Linked DNA regions of Homo sapiens: region 2 is linked to region 1. Evidence: promoter capture Hi-C in human tissues and cell types (Jung and others, 2019). All regions are on one chromosome and are shown on one strand. The core of a region is centred on a gene start or on the middle of the fragment in contact, and the rest is flanking DNA. Distances in the headings are between cores, read along the strand shown. Region 1 holds the start of TMEM18 (transmembrane protein 18). Region 2 overlaps MYT1L (myelin transcription factor 1 like).

Region 1 (3,591 bases), core at 1,092-3,591:
AACTCCCTAACTTCTCTAAGTTCTGTAGCCCTTATCCTTGAAACCAAGTTGGGCAATGCCTTATTTTATGCACAGAACTTTTCTTTCCCAGTTTGCAATCTTCCTCCCATTCAAAGCAGTGCATGAGCACAGCTGCCACCAAGGACGCATCTTGTGTAAAAGACAGCACTTCCGGAAACCCAACTCTCCTGTGTGCAGCTGGTGCTCAGCACCTCCCTGGTAGGCAACAGGAACTCAACAGATTCCTCTCAACTCTAACATCCAAAAAGTAGTTTTCTTTATAGCTTCCAAGAGTGAAAAACGGGAGTGCCCTGGGAGCAGGCACATGACAGAGGGTTGGGAGGTCTTGTAAAAATATGTATATATTTCGAAGACACAGACAGAACATACACAGTTTCATTTCACACAGTGATCTGAGTTGTGGAGTTTGTGTTGTTTTACTCACCTAGACACAGAAAGTGCCCGATCTGTAGTCTGTAGCTTCGGGAGGACAAGCAGGTGAGGAGCACGCAGAGCGCGTGGAAGGTGGCCAGCCCCATGAGCCAGGGCTCAGTCCAGTCCGTCTGCTGTAGGAACACACCAGCAGACACTCACTGTCCTGCCACTCAAGGCCGGGTTCACGGCCCACCCACAGCCTTCTCCCAGCGCAGGAGGCAGGGGCCTCTCACTCCTGAGTCCTCCTGGGCTACTCACCAAGTATCCAGAGAGCATTGCCAGGCCTCAGAGAAACATGGGGACAGGAAAGGGAGAAGGAACCAGGAGGATGGAAACAGGATTCTCCCCTCAGTGCAACTATAATTCATGGAATTCAAAGTTCAAGCACACAGAACTGAAGGCATCTCTGATGTGCTCCTTTCGTTTGTGGAACAGAATCATGTTTTTAAGGTGGGTATAATTAAAGGAATTACCATCCTTTACGATGATAATTGGTTATGATAATTGGTGACGACAAGGAAATTAAGACGATTGCTCAAAGAGATGCACTTGGCTCAGCCCCAAAGGTAAAACATGAATCATCATTTCAGACTCCTTAGTCAGCACTGAAGACCTCAGGGAATCTTGAGCCATCGCCACGTGCAAGACTTGATTTTCTCCAACCTCTCTGCAATACACTGAACTCTCCAGACAGTGCCGCACTCCGCCGCCTCCTGGACTCCCCGGGACCCTGCTGTACCTGGGGACAGTGTCTGGCTCAGGGACCTGAAGTAGCCAGGCTCAGATCCACTGCTGCTCAGTCCCCACCTGATGCTCAGATGCCAATCCCAGCAGTCCTCAACCCTCCCCATCCCCTCCTTGAGCGCCCTCCTGCAGAAGACAAGCCCTGCCCTCCAAGCTGCAGCCCCGCCCTGCCCTCCAAGCTGCAGCCCCGCCCTGCCCTCCAAGCTGCAGCCCGGCACAGCCCTCCAGAACTCCTGTGTCACTACTCTCTGCTGGGGACCGCAGCGGCTTCTCCAGAGCCGCGCCATGACATAAGGACACAAGCGCATCTACTCCCATCAATGCACCCACCAGAAGACCAGAGGCACGGAGGTGAGGGGAGCACGGCTTTCTGCCCAGACCCCATCGAGTGCCCATGTCACCCCTTGGCGGCCACGTGGGGCGTGGGCTCCCCTGGGATCTGTCAGACGAACCCGGCACGGCGCACGCCCCGCCCACACTGGGCAGCGTTCCTCCGTGCCACCCCACACGATCAGGCTCCACCACGCACGCCCCGCCGCACTGCCAGAATCCGCCCACATGGCCCAAGCCCCGCCCGCAAGACGCTGGACTGGCCGGCGTGCACCTCCCACACGAACAAAGCCCTACCCCTCGCGCTCCGCCCACACAACTCAGCCACGCCCGCACGGTGCAGGACGCCAGCCCAGCCCAAGCCCGGGCCACAGAGCGCCGGAGCCAGCTCACTGCGCACGCTCCTCCACAAGGCCCCGCCCGGCCCCGCCCCTCCCCGCCCAACGGCCCAGGACCCCGCCTAGCGCTCGCGCCCCGACGCCCGGCCCCGGCCCCCTCCCACAGGGCCCAGGACCCCGCCCACAGCGCGCGCCCCCGACGCCGGCCCCGAGCCACTCCCACAGGTCTCAGGACCCTGCCCAGCGCGCGCGCTCCGCCACAAGGCCCCGCCCACGGCCGGGGCCTTCTTGGCCACAGGCCGGGTGCTCTGTGGGGCCTACCCTACGCCTCTCCGCCGTCCTCCCCCGAACTGGTGGTTACGCGGGCCGCGAGTTACCGTGAGCACGGCTGGGATGCTGACGGGGAAAGAGCTGACAGAGAAGGCGGACGGCATGGTGTTGGGAAGCCCGCTCTCACAGCAACCGCCGAACCCGGCCTGGCCAGAATCCACAGAGGAGGGCGCCAAATCCTCTCTCGTGAGATCTGCCCTTCTCACGAAACTTGCGCTTGCTTCCTCTCGCGGTAATTTCATGGCATTGCTAGGTCCAGATATCGCGATATTTCCTGGTGGTCGCTGTAATACGGAAAACTTACTACGCTGCTGTGGGACTTGTGCTCGCTCCGCCAGGAGGCCGAGGGCGTCTTTAGTTCGTTAACAGAGGAGCAGGCGGAGGCGGGTGGAATTTAGGAGGTTTGTTTCAAAGGCTCAGGGCGCTGTACCGCCACGCCAGCCCTGTCCCACCTGGGACTCCCTAGAAGGGTCAGAGCATCAATGAGGACGGTGTCCGCCCCGAGACCCTGCAGGAGCCGGGGACATTGCCCACTCCTCGGACCCTGCAGGACTTGGGAAGGTGTCTGCTCTCGCGACCCTAAGGGCAGTGCACTCTTAGTCTGGGTCAGCTTAGGGTTATCTGTCTTCACTTTGGAGATTTACCAGATGTTCTTACGCTTCACTTCGTTGTTCAACGACAGATACAAAAATATAAAGTTAATTTTCTTCCAGCGAATTTTTTCCCTTTATTTTAACATCTATACCCCAACTTTGACATTTTCAAATTAAACATTCTGTTATTTTAACATCATGAATTATTAAGTGTATATACTTTAATTGCATATGTTAGCTCTTGAACTAGTTTAATGTTTCTAAAAATAGTTCTAGTGGTGGACTTTTTTTTTTTTTTAATAGCTTTAACCCCTCCCAGATCTTTCTTAAAATCTTTCCACAGTGTGGTCATTTCTGCTTATGCTACTTAACATGCATTCTCTCATTTCAGTGTAGAAGGTCATGGTTTCTTCTTATGGGAAAACATTTCTTTCATTGATATTTTTCTCTATTCTTCCTGTATTCAACTCCAGGAACATCCCGTTAGGTAGATAGTGCATCTTCCTCTCTTTTGTGTTTCTCAACCTTCCTCTCAAAACATCACGACTGTTGTTGCTGAGTTTGGGAAATCTCGGGCTTGGCTTTCCTGGTTTTTTTTTTTTTTTTTTAAGACGATGTCTCGCTCTGTCGCCCAGGCTGGAGCACAATGGTGGGACCTCGGCTCACTGCAACCTCCGCCTCCTGGGTTCAAGCTATTCTCCTGCCTCAGCCTCCCGAGTAGCTGGGATTACAGGTGTTCGCCACCTCACCTGGCTAATTTTTTTTGTATTTTTAGTAGAGACGGGGTTTCACCATGTTGGCCAGGCTAGTTTTGAACTCCT
Region 2 (3,448 bases), core at 589-3,088, 1.1 Mb after region 1:
CCTCCGGGGCAGGAAGGCACCTCTGCCTCCTTTTCTGTCCTGTTGGGTGTTTGCTGAAGATGGCGTGTCCTGTGTGCGGAGCGCCTCTTCCATGCAGTCCCGTGCCTCGGCTTCCTCACAACTCCTCAGTCTCCGAGGGGCCTTCCCTCCCTTCCAGGGGCTCCTGGACGTGCTGGTCAACTGGAGTCCTCACTGTGCTAAAGGCCAGGGGCCATCTGGCACTTAACTATGGGTGAGGTGAAAAACTTCTATATATAACGCTTTTTTTTTTTTTTTTTGAGAGGGTCTTGCTCTGTCACCCAGGCTGGAGTGCAGTGGCCCGATGTCGGCTCACTGCAGCCTCTGCCTCCTGGGTTCCAGTGATTCTCCCGCCTCAGCCTCCCGATTACAGAATTATAGCCTCTGGGATTACAGGTGTGTGCCACCACACCTGGCTAATTTTTGTATTTTTAGTAGAGACAGGGTTTCACCATATTGGCCAGGCTGGTCTTCAACTCCTGACCTCAGGTGATCTGCCCGCCTTGGCCTCCCAAAGTGCTAGGATTACAGGCATGAGCCACCGCACCCCGCCTATAATGTTTTATATATGTATATGACATATGTGTTTATTCTCTCTATACATAATATTGTATTTCACCTGTATATGAAGTGTTAGATGGACCGTGTCCGTAAGTGGTGTGATGATGTGTTAGTGATATATCTAGAAACACTCTTTACTAGTGCAGGCAGATTACATCATTATTAGAAATATCTCTAATATCTGCATTAATATAATTAAGCTTTCTAAATATTATTTTTGTAATACATTTTCTTTTAAAATTTAAGAAAACAGGAAAATTCATAGCAGAAGAACTTGATCGTAATACATTTTCAACTGGGGATATTAGTGGTTGTTTTTGGGGAAATCCTATCTTTGTATAAAAATATTTCCAGTATTCTTCATCCACACCACAGGTCTAAGTTGTTATTTTTTTGATGTGATGTTTGCATCTCATAATTATAATAGAATATTCATAAAATTCTAAATAATCATTGCTGTTGCCTGACTGTGTCCCCTGAAAACTCGTGCACTGAAATCCTGACCCCCACCGGGATGGTGTTAGGAGAAGGGGCGTATGGGAAGTGAGGAGGCCTCGTGATGGGATCCGTGCCCTTATAACAGGGACCCAGACAGCTCCTTAACCCCTTCTCCCATGTGAGGACAGAGTGAGAAGGCGTCGTCCACCAACCAGAGAGCAGCAGTTGCCAGATGCCGAATCTGCTGGTGCCTCGGTCTCGGACTTCCAGTCTCCAGAACTTGGAGGAATAAATTTCTGGTTTCTATGCTGCCCAAGGTATGGTATTTGTTTTTGCAGCCCTGGAACGTCTAAGACAATCACCAGTATTTGTTGCTCATACCACAACTCTGTGGCTGTGAACTGCTGTGTTTGCTGATGATGTTCCTAGGTTCAGTGGGAGAAGGAGCAGCGGGGACTTTAACCCCAGCGTCATCAGCTCCAGCATCATCAGCTCTGGCGTCATCAGCTCTGGCGTCATCAGCTCCAGCATCATCAGCTCCCGCGTCCTATCCCATCCCAGGGCAAGCCGCACGGGAAGCCCCAGGAGCAGAGAGGCCTCTGGGAACTGGGTGGCCTGACAGGGTGGGCACGGTGGGCGCCCTGGCTTCTCCTGCTTGCCCTGACTGCATCCCCAGGAATCCGGACAGTCCCTGAGGGGGTCCTGGCTCGTGGTTCCCTTTGCTGTTTTTTTGTTCATTTATTTGTTACTAGACATTGGCACTGCTGCTTCTGATGGATCCTCTCACCCTGCCTGCTGCTGTTTACACCGGAAATCCCTGTGCTACTCAAGCTGTCTTTAGTGTGGGGCGTGAACGAACCCCTCGCGTTCCGGAGGGAACAGGCTCCTCTTCAGTCCTCCCTGATGGGGCCTGGGCAACAACCTGGCAGTCGTCCCCACTCCGGGGCACCCTCCTGGGTCTTCTCCTGCCTCCCCATCAGATCCCAGCAGGACGCCCTGCAAATCCGGCTGGGGTGGGGGCTGACACTTCTGCTTCCCTAGCTTATCCGTAAATCTGCTTCTGAAGGCGAGCTGGATATTTTCATTTGTAAAATAAGAAGTTCTCAAAAGATCTGTTAAGGCTCTCCTAAAATAGGATGCTTGGATGTTAACGCCACTTTTCCCCTTCCTGCCACTGGACACACTGTGGCTGTCACACACATCTTCCTGCAGGTGTGTCTGCGCTTTGGCCCCCGCATCCAGGTAGACTCTGCAGTCAGGTGACTACATCTGGCAAGTCCTTTGTGAGACCAGGAGGCCCACTGGACCTCACACCGCACCCCCTGATGCTCTAACGCACATAAGACGTGGAACTGGCTAGGAAAGACTTAGGCAGTCCTGTTTGCTCACTTATGAAATGAGAATAAAATATTGAATTGACTGTGTTTGTGAAGTTTAATGAAAAGAATGTGTATTCTTGAGGGCAAGGATTAAAATGCACTTTTTTGTTCACTGCTCTGTATCCCCATGATGGGAGAGTGCTGGAGATGGAATAGGTGCCCAGTGACGACTTCTGAAAGCATAAAATGTCTGAATGCACTTTGTGATGGCTCAGTGAGTGGAGGCCCAGGGTGAGTGTGAGTGCACCCAGGCTCTGGAAGGTGCAGACTGAGCCCTCAAAGAGGCCTGCGGCAGGATTTTGCAGGACTTCCAAGTTAAGAGAAGACTCTTAGCCGGGCGCGGTGGTTCATGCCTGTAATCCTAGCACTTTGTGAGGCCGAGGCGGACAGATCATGAGGTCAGGAGTTCCAGACCAGCCTGGCCAACATGGTGAAACCCTGTCTCTACTAAAAATACAAAAATTAGCTGGGCGTGGTGGCAGGTGCCTATAATCCCAGCTACTTGGGAGGCTGAGGCAGGAGAATCTCTTGAACCCGGGAGGCAGAGGTTGCAGTGAGCCGAGATCGCACTGCTGCACTCCAGCCTGGGTGACAGAGCAGGACTCCGTCTCAAAAAAAAAAAAAAAAAAAAAGACTCTTGAATGCAGCTGCCGCCCTGGGTTAAGATGAGAGGAGGGCTGGGGTGAGGGCCTCCTGCAGAGGTCCTAAGACTGTGACTGTAGGACAAGGGTGACGCCTGGTCGGTCCACGGTGCGTGTGGCCCAGCCCGGCTCAGTATGATCCTCACAAATGCAGGGAGCAGCTCCCATCTTTCCCCCGCTGAACCTCTCTGGCCTTCCGCCGTCTGAACCTCCGCAGCCCTTTCGACTTTCCCTGTGTTTGCGAATGGCATTGAGGGGCCAGGAGCTGCAGGTGGGGGGGAGAGAGGGAGGGCCACAAAGGCACGCCTCCTCCTCCTTGCCGTCCTCCCAGCGAGCAGCCTCTGCTGTTTGCGCCTGAACCCCCTCCCTTCTCTTCATCACTTCAGTCCAGGTCTGTGCTTCTTTCTCCCT

The links. The method cuts DNA at HindIII sites, captures the fragments that hold promoters and counts their contacts. A contact is called where the count stands out against the background at its distance.
Region 2: a fragment that was not itself captured here is called in contact with the fragment with the promoter of TMEM18 in region 1 in 1 of the 25 tissues and cell types used here (IMR-90 fibroblasts).

Annotation. Positions count from the first base shown.
Region 1 is chr2:675,065-678,655 of GRCh38, forward strand. TMEM18 (transmembrane protein 18) reads right to left here and starts at 2,342. Exons shown (of 5, transcript NM_152834.4): 1 at 2,225-2,342; 2 at 446-566. The coding sequence starts at 2,281. TMEM18-DT (TMEM18 divergent transcript) reads left to right here and starts at 2,308. Exons shown (of 3, transcript NR_183417.1): 1 at 2,308-2,409. RefSeq lists enhancers at 1,617-2,382, 2,285-2,384, 2,415-2,484 and a silencer at 1,875-2,124. The HindIII fragment of the contact is 18,361 bases long and covers 1-3,591 here.
Region 2 is chr2:1,809,869-1,813,316 of GRCh38, forward strand. The region is part of intron 21 of MYT1L (myelin transcription factor 1 like); the gene reads right to left. Among named protein-coding and RNA genes, the nearest start is that of PXDN, 67 kb to the left of the region's middle. The HindIII fragment of the contact is 3,644 bases long and covers 17-3,448 here.